2 separate regions of the Homo sapiens genome follow, and region 1 is linked to region 2. The links are contacts of gene promoters, found by promoter capture Hi-C in human tissues and cell types (Jung and others, 2019). All regions are on one chromosome and are shown on one strand. Each heading gives the region's core, a stretch centred on a gene start or on the middle of the fragment in contact. The rest is flanking DNA. Distances are from core to core; before and after follow the strand shown.

What was found. Contacts are between HindIII fragments. The study calls those that stand out against the background at their distance.
Region 1: a contact is called between a fragment that was not itself captured here and the fragment with the promoter of PMP22 in region 2, in 3 of the 25 tissues and cell types used here (IMR-90 fibroblasts, hippocampus and liver).

Annotation. Positions count from the first base shown.
Region 1 is chr17:15,373,824-15,378,176 of GRCh38, forward strand. No RefSeq gene overlaps it. Among named protein-coding and RNA genes, the nearest start is that of TEKT3, 34 kb to the left of the region's middle. The HindIII fragment of the contact is 5,946 bases long and covers 1-4,353 here.
Region 2 is chr17:15,262,281-15,266,618 of GRCh38, forward strand. It overlaps PMP22 (peripheral myelin protein 22), which reads right to left and starts at 3,046. Exons shown (of 5, transcript NM_000304.4): 1 at 2,874-3,046. LOC124903931 (a long non-coding RNA gene) reads left to right here. Exons shown (of 2, transcript XR_007065632.1): 2 at 3,176-3,629. The HindIII fragment of the contact is 30,387 bases long and covers 1-4,338 here.

The sequences.
Region 1 (4,353 bases), core at 483-2,982, 110 kb after region 2:
TATTACCTGGACTGTCATGTCCTTCAGTTCTAGAAAGTCTTCTTGTACCATGTCTCAGATAATTTCCTCCTCTTCATTTCCTCTGGATCTCCTATTAGATGAATTTTGTTTTTTTTAAATAGATCCTTTAGGCCAGGCACAGTGGCTCACGCCTGTAATCCCAACACTTTGGGAGGCTGAGGAGGGTGGATCACCTGAGGTCAGGAGTTCAAGACCAGCCTGGCCAACATGGTGACAACCCATCTCTACTAAAATTACAAAAATTAGCCAGGTGTGGTGGTGCATGTCTGTAATCTCAGCTACTTGGAGGCTGAGGCAGGAGAATCACTTGAACCCGGGAGGCGGAGGTTGCAGTGAGCCGAGATTGCATCACTGCACTCCAGCCTGGGAGACAGAGTGAGACTCTATTTCAAAAAAAAAAAAAAAAAGAAAACATATATATACACACACACACACACACACATACATATACATATATAAATGTTCTTATTGTTTCTCTACGATTTTCCATATCTTTGCATGACATCTTTACATTTTGGAAGATTTTCTCAATTGTATTTCCCAGTCTTCCTCTAATGTTTATTCTGCTGTGCTACTTCAAATTTCCAAGAGCTTTTATTGTTGTCTGATTTTTTTTTTCTGAGAATGAGGTTCTTATTGTATGAATGCAATGTCACCTCTCACCTCTTTGGAGACATCAGTGCTACAGTATTTTTGAAGGTTTCTCGTCTGCCCTGCATAATTTCTTACCTGGTTTCTTATGTTTGTTTTGGACCCTTCCCCCAAATGTCTGATGAAAGTTGACTGCCCATGTATGTTTCAGAGTCTTAGGGGCACTAAGAAGATGACTGCAGGCTCAAAGTACACAGCCAAGACTTGTCAAGCAGCAGCTGCCACACTTGGGCACCTCCAGGTTTCAATGAATGGAGCTATTTTCTCTGGGTCAGAATTTTCCAAATCACGTCCTTGTGTGTGGCTGGGGGCATACTGTGAGCAGAGCCAGGGAAGAGAGCAGAAGGATGCAGAGCTTCATTTCATACCCATTTTCATCCCTGTACCACACCACCTCATTGTGCCTAAAATGTTCAAGACCAGAACTCCTTCTATCTAATCTGTCTGTAATATAAACCTGCAACTTTATACATGGAGCAGAGGTCAGGCTAGATCAATCTGGAGACCCCCAACTCTGGATGAAGTCTGTGCTCCTGTAGCCTTTTTGCAGCCCCCAGCTTGCCTCCCACTTTCTGTGGGACCTGATGCTTTCAAGACCAGACTCTCCAAAGAGTTTTATGGACTCTATGAATGAAGTCACCTGTTTTCTTCCAGTATCCCCTACTCAACTAATTTTAGAATGCAGTTTTTGCCTCTTTGCTAAGTCAGTTCTTCTCTCCCACCTGTTTTCCATATTCCAGAAATTGGTTTAAATCTCTCACACACTGGTGGCTCCTGTCTTGTCTTCTGAGCCCTCCTGGGAGGACTCAGAACCTTTTGTGTTTCTATAACGTTACGTTAGAGTGGTCTTGGGTGGAGAGTGGGGAAAAGAAAAAATGATACACATAGATATTTGATCTGCCATGTTTTAACAGGTGTTTTCTTTTCCTTCTGCTCTTGTCCAGTTTCAAAGTTATGCCTGTGGTATGAATTGAGAACGTTTGCATTTTTTCTATGCTCTGGGAGAGTTAATATCACATAGTCTCTGGTAGAATGTGTCCAGAAAAGGATCCAGGCCTTCTATCTTTTTAAGGGTTAGATTTTTGACTGCCTTTTCAATTTTTCTGTGGTTATTGTTTTATTTAAGTTTTCTACCTCTCCCCAGACCATCTCAAATTTTGGTATTTGGAGCTCCTGAATCTATACATATCTTACTTTTTATTTTATTCTTTCAATGGTTTGTTCTATAGCATAAAAATCAGGGAATGGCATCAATAGTCACAAGGTAGAAACAACCCAAGTATCCACTGACAGACGAATGGATAAACAAGGTGTGGTATTTCAGACAAGGCAATATTATTCAGCCTTAGAAAGAAAGGAAATTCTGACACATGCTACAATATGGCTGAACCTTGAGAGCATAATGCAGAGTGAAATAAGCCAGCCACAAAAGGACAAATGCTGAATGATTCCACTTACATAAGAGACCTAGAATAGTTAAATTCATAGAGATAGAAAGTAGAATGGTGGTTGCCAGAGGCTGGGTTGAGTTGCGGTGGGAGGTTTTTTAACGGGTACAGAGTCTGGGATTTGCAAGATAGGAAGAGTTCTCTGGATGGATGGTGGTGATGGTCACACAACAATATGAATGTACTTAATGCCCCTGAACTGTACACTTAAAAATAATTAAGATGGTAATGTATTTTACAACAAATTAAACTTGTTTAATTTTAAATTTAAGAAAAAATTAGGAAGACTTTCTTGGCTTGGACGTTTAGCCCACTGATTTAGTTTTCACATTTGGTTATTTGCTCACTATGCTGAAGTTTTTTAAAAGTCACTTATTTTAAATTTGTAAAGTTTCTACTTGATTCTTGTTTTATACCAACTATTCTTATTTTGTGGCGATTCCCCCCAAGTAACCTATCATAAGATGTTAATAATCTTTAAAGTATTTGGTCATTTTCACTATTTCCTTAGAAGATAATTTCCTTCTCTGCCTTATTAAGCTTAGTGTTTTGTGTTTTTTTTTTGTTTGTTTTTGTTTTTCGAGATGGAGTTTCGCTCTTGTTGCCCAGGCTGGAGTTCAATGGTGCGATCTCGGCTCACCGCAACCTCCGCCTCCTGGATTCAAGTGATTCTCCTTCCTCAGCCTCCTGAGTAGCTGGGATTACAGGCATGCATCACCATGCCCAGCTAATTTTGTATTTTTAGTAGAGACGGGGTTTCTCCATGTTGGTCAGCCTGGTCTCGAACGGCTGACCTCAGGTGATGTGCCCACCTCGGCCTCCCAAAGTGCTGGTATTACAGGTGTGAGCCACCGCGCCGAGCCAGCTTAGTGGTTTTGTTTCATGTGTTTGTTTTTCTGGAGTGTCTGATGATTTTTGCTCTTCTCTTTGTATTGAGAATTTCCTCCTTGCCTGTCTGTGGACACAGTTTATCGTCTGTGTCTCTTGTTCTTGGTGAATGTGCGGAGGCGTTTAATGTGTGTGGACAGGTCTCTATCCCTCTTTAGCTGCAGTAGTAGGCTCCAGGGTACCTCCTTCTTTCTGAGCCCCAGTTGCCCACCACACTATCTGCAGTCATGGCTTCTTGCTGCATAGCAGAAGTTGAGATTGAGGGAAGGGGCTGCCTTGCCTGCCTGGCCTTCCAACTAATTGCCCTGAAGAAAGCCCCAGGACCCCGCCTGTGCCCTTGTTTCTACCTAGACTCTGGGTCTGGGGCTTCCTTGCCCCACCACATCTGCATAGCAGCCTTTTTCTGGGATGCCCTCTGGTTTACATCTTCTGCTCTTCTGGTTTGCCCCCACCTTGGAGAACTGACTAATATGGTACTCATCTTATTTCTTGGTGCTGTCACGAACTTAATATTTCAAGTCATTTTTATCTGGGTGTTCAGTCCACCCCCTTGTGGTGCCCTTCGTTAGTCTTCATAATGACTTCTTGAAAGCTCTCTGAGTCAGGCCAGGTTGCTTCTGAGCTCCACAGCAAGCTGGTAGAACTCATACTTATGAATAGTGCTGAATAGTTCTCCACACTTGAGTCATTCACAACTACAAGGGCCCAAACAGACAAAAAGGATCCTTATAACGCGTGGAAGGTGCTTTTCTCCATGAGCTGCTGGATAAATGAAGCCTGTCATTTCTTGCATACTGCAGCTTCTCAAGCACTTTCCTGGGACTCCAAGGAGACCAACGTGTTCTGGCGCCGTGAGAGGAAACACTGGCAGTTTTGATACCAGTGCCATAAAGAATCAATGCACAGCCATGGAGTACAGAGAGACATAAGGCATCCTTTTGTTCAGCTGCAAATACTGCATTCCAGGAGAGCCAGTTCTGAGCAGGGGGCAGAGGGAGTAGCCACAAAATGGCCTTTGTCCGAACTCCCATAAAAAAATTCCAGCCAGTGGGAGTGAACACAGACACAGTCCAGACAGTCGATTGTAGATGTCCTGGATTTTGGCTTTTACAGTGAAACTATTCCAGGAATTCATGGACCGTGGTCTATTGAAGGAGGAGGAAAGCAAATACCTCCTCAAAAAAAGGTGCCACTTGCAAAAAAAGTTGATTTTTATGGTTGAGGATTTATTGCTTACTAAGAACTTGGTATCTAGAAAATTGGGTGAGTTTTTATTAGTGGTGTATAGATACAGCCAAAGAAAAGCACTTCCCCCCTTTATCTCACCCTCACGCCTATCCTTAGT
Region 2 (4,338 bases), core at 1,796-4,295:
AGGACACACAGGGGACCCTGTGCCCCTAAACAGAAGCCCCAGGGAGCTGGCCAAAGCCCCGCGCCTGCGCTGCGCTTTCTGGCACCCTCACTGGAAGATGCCCACATTTCTCCTCCATCTCCTTCACTCTCCCCACCAAATCACTTACAGCCCAAAGGAACAGCTGTCCCGATCCTCAGGGTGGCCTCAAACACAAACTCGGGTGCGTTGGCTCCGCTGCTGGCGCCGCCAAAGCTGCGCTGCGGGGCTGCGCGCGCGCGAAGCAAGGGGGCAGTGGGAGGCTCCTGGCGTTCCCCTTTAACGGGAACAACGCCCTGTTTGCGTCGCTGCAGTAGGGTGTGTCCCTGGGTCAGCGTGTGCGGGAGGGCGGGACTCAGGGAGGAGAGGGGGCAGGAGAGAGGGAGGGCAGGAGACAGTCACTTGGCCTTAAATGCGCCTCAAGAAAAAGTCGGTCCCTGCAAAACCGCGGCGACTTTTACTCGAAACCAGAGGCGGCTGAGCTTTCTCACCTCCCACCTCCCTTCTCCCCTGGCCCCGTGGAGACCTAGTGTTGACCGAGAAACTGGCTCCTCAGCCCACTCTGGGAAGACCCAGCCAAATGTAGCTCAGCGGATGCCCAGGGCTGGGCTTCTGGGCCCGCCGACGCCGACCGCGCCCGCGCGGGGCTGAGGCTGGATTCCTTTCCCACTAATAGAGGGCAGCGGGCGCTTGAGCGCTGGAAGAAGTCCCTCTCCTCTCGGGTCCTGGAGCCCCTGCCCTGTCCTGGCGTCTTAGCCGGACACACCTGCCCCGCGCCGGTCCCCGCTATTACTGTCTGCACCTACGAAGCATGCCAGCTTCCTAGGATTGGCGGGGATTGATCTAGCGGGCTCCTCTTGGGTGCGAATTAGGGGAAGAAAAGTCCGGCCGACTACTGGATAGCATGGTCTGGGATTGGGCTCCTCCTAGCCTAGGCAAAACCAGACTACCACCGAATAAGCTCTAGGCAAAGTGTTCCTGCAGCAGTCGGGCTTGGCTGTCAGCCTTGGCTGGAGTCCTGGCCATGGGGTTTGGCGGGCGGGTGCGAGGTGGCCATTTGAGGTGGGGTTGGAGCAGCCAAGGAAATCAGCTGATTCATAGCCTCCTAACGTGGCCCGCCCAGCGTTACAGGGAGAGAGGCTAGCCCCCTTCAGTCTCGGCTTGGCAGAGGCGCGCCCAACTGAGACTCCCGTGCGCAGGCCAGCCTTGAGGCACGGGACAGGGAGCAGGAATGTGGATGTTAAAGGTTTCTGCCTGAAAATGCAGCAGTTCACGCACGCGCGCGCACACACACACACACACACACTTCCCTACCTCTAGTGTACTGTGTCATAGAAGCTCATCACTCTCAATGATTCAAATAATTCTATATTATTTTACGATTTGAAAGGAGCTGCTATTTTAGCTAATTGTATATTCTTACGGTAAGTAAAAATAAATTTGAAAAAGATCTTCAAACAATGATCTTTTTAAAACTATCGTGTTATCAGATTAAAATGAAGTGTACTTGTAAACACTGCATTTACAGTGCCCGTTATATGCCAAGCACTTTGCCTGGACTTTATATGCATGGTCTGTGAGAGGCAGTATGGTGCAGTGGTTAGGCACTCTGGCTCTGGGCTCCAACAAACCTAATCACCCTGCTTACTTTTGTTGTGAATTTGGGCAATTTCTCAAGTTCACTGAGCTTCAGTTTTCTCAGGTGCAAAAGGAAATAGTAATGCCTGCTTTAAAGGTTTATGGTGGTGATTGAAGGAGACAATATGTACAAAGCAGTTAACATCGTGTCTGCAACATAATAAGGGCCCAGTGCCCAAATTGCCACCACTATTATTATATCACATTTAACTCTCACATCAACCTTTCAGGGAAGACCTGACCACCTCTGCACTAAAGTAGCTTGTAACTCTGATAGGTAGGTAGGTAGGTAGGTAGATAGATAGATAGATAGATAGATATAGATAGATAGATAAAGATTTATAAATGAAAGTGCATATGCAAGTAGAAAAAAAAGTCTAAAGACATGGCAGTGTTTTCTTTCCTCCACAGGTCATTTTATAAGTTAGATTTGCTCTAGAAATTATTACTTTGTTTTATGCCATTTGGACATTTATTTATTTAACCAACACTTATGTGATCACAACATACTCAGGACTGTTCTAAGTAAGCACTTTAGAAATATGAGCATATCTAACTCAGGGTTTTCTTTCCCTTCCTTTGTGATTTTCAAATAAACTTTTTAATAAAGTCTAATACACATACAGAAAAGTGCATATATTGGGTGCTACAGCTCGCTTCTTCCTTTCTTTTGAACCCAATAGTTTAATCAATAACCACCCAGGTCACAGCCACACCATATACTGCCAGACAGGTAAACCCAACCCATCTGTCCCTCACTGCCTCTGGCCTCCTGCCTGGTTCTCAATGGTGGCAGAGGAAGTGCTACTCAGTGCCTGCTGACCAGGCTTGCCACACCCAGAGCCCGGCTGGCCAAGGCTCTGCCACAGGTGGCAGCTTCTCCCTAACCTGCTTACCAAGGCCACCTGCCAGCTGTGTGTGCACAGCTATTTTCCATGGGGGAAAAAGCATCTAGATTCCTTTCTTCCTTTCAATCTGGATGCATTAGGGTTTCTAGATGCTCTCAGATGGCCCCCCACCTCCCCAGCCAGAGTATATATCCACCTTTTAACCAAGGATATAAAAAGCCCTCTGAATCTCCAGTCAATTCCAACACAAATGCACCATCTCTCCTGCAATCCTTTTCATTTGCGGCTTGCAGGGGGTGGGAAATTAGGCAATTCTTGTAAAGCATAGGCACACATCACCCAGAGGCACAGTTTGCCAATAAAACTCACCCGGCCAAACAGCGTAACCCCTTCTTCCAAGCAGATTTCTTTGCAGCCAAATGCAAGGGATGTTAAGGCAAGACCCTCCCCACAGGGCAGTCAGAGACCCGCAGCCGACAGACTAAGCCTGCAGCTTCCAACCAGGCTCCCCGAGATGTTCCCTGGTGGTGCTCCCTGTAACTGAAGCCAGACCAGGCGTCTTTCCAGTTTATTCAGGGGCTGGTCCAATGCTGGGATATGTCATGGTGGCCTGAGAGGTTCTCAGCCTCTATTATTTAAAGAGACAGTGTCCAACTTTGTTTGCTTTCCAGAATACAATAATCCCAAGAGGCCCTGCAGGGCATGGAGAAACTGGAATCAGAAGGGAGAAGAGCTTTGAGTATGCCTGAAGCCTGTGATGCCAAGACTGTTCTCTCTGGAAGTGCCAACCTGTGTAATAGCCAAGAGGTCCCACTGGCTCCCCTCCCCTCCCAGTGAATTCTGCAGAGATTAAATATACTGTGGGAAGGATCTGTGTCTACAGTGTTACATACGTGCAGGTAAGTTTTATTTTAAATAAACTTCCTTTTAAGGAGCCCAAACATTGCACAGCTAATCTCTCACAGCATCACAGCAGTGAGCCAAATGTCTCAAGAGTCACCAAATCAAGCCTCCTTTGTTCCAACCCCTGGTTGGAAGGACTCCCTGTTACCTGCCTTGTCTGCCTAGACCCCATCGCAAATGATCACATGTGTTGTACATTAGAATAAAACTTAGGGAAATGTGTTCTTCCGACTCTGTCTTTAATGTGCCCGAATCAAGCTGACCTTCATGAGATAATTCAATGCAAGTAAACGAACCTCTATTGAAAACTATTGAAAACTTTCTAACCTGTCAGGCAGAATAGGCTGGAAGAGCAATTGGAAATTCTTGGAGAGGGAAGTAAAGGAAGTTATGGCATATTTAGGTTCTTTGCAGCGTACCACTCCAGCTCCCAGAGAGTCCTCCATCCCTTGAACCGCTTCTAGCTGCAAACTCTGACACAAGAGGACTGGTTTCATTGCATGAGTTTCCTGGAATTCTGGCACTTGGGGCATAAGACTTCCTCTTGTGTTAGGGATCCCCAGTCTGGAGAGACCTGCAGAATTTGGAGGAGTCCCTCCCTGTCACACACTTTACGTTTGATTGGACTCTCCAGTCACAAGGGCCTCTCAATGGCCCTCTCCCCTGTTCTGCCCACAGCCAGCATCTGCTCACAGCCAGCATCACAGCCAGTGCCAATAAAATAGTTTCACCTTTCTCTCTTTGCTGAAATCATTTTTATTTTTCACAGCAGTGGTTCTTTAGAATCACTCAAGAGCTTTGCAAATGACCTAGCCTGGGCCATGGTCAGAGAAGCTGACTCAGGTGTTTTGGGATGGGGCTCAGGTATGGGTAATTTCCAGTGTCTTTCTCCCCGCTGGATGTTTCGTTGTCCAGCCAGGTTGTCATGTGG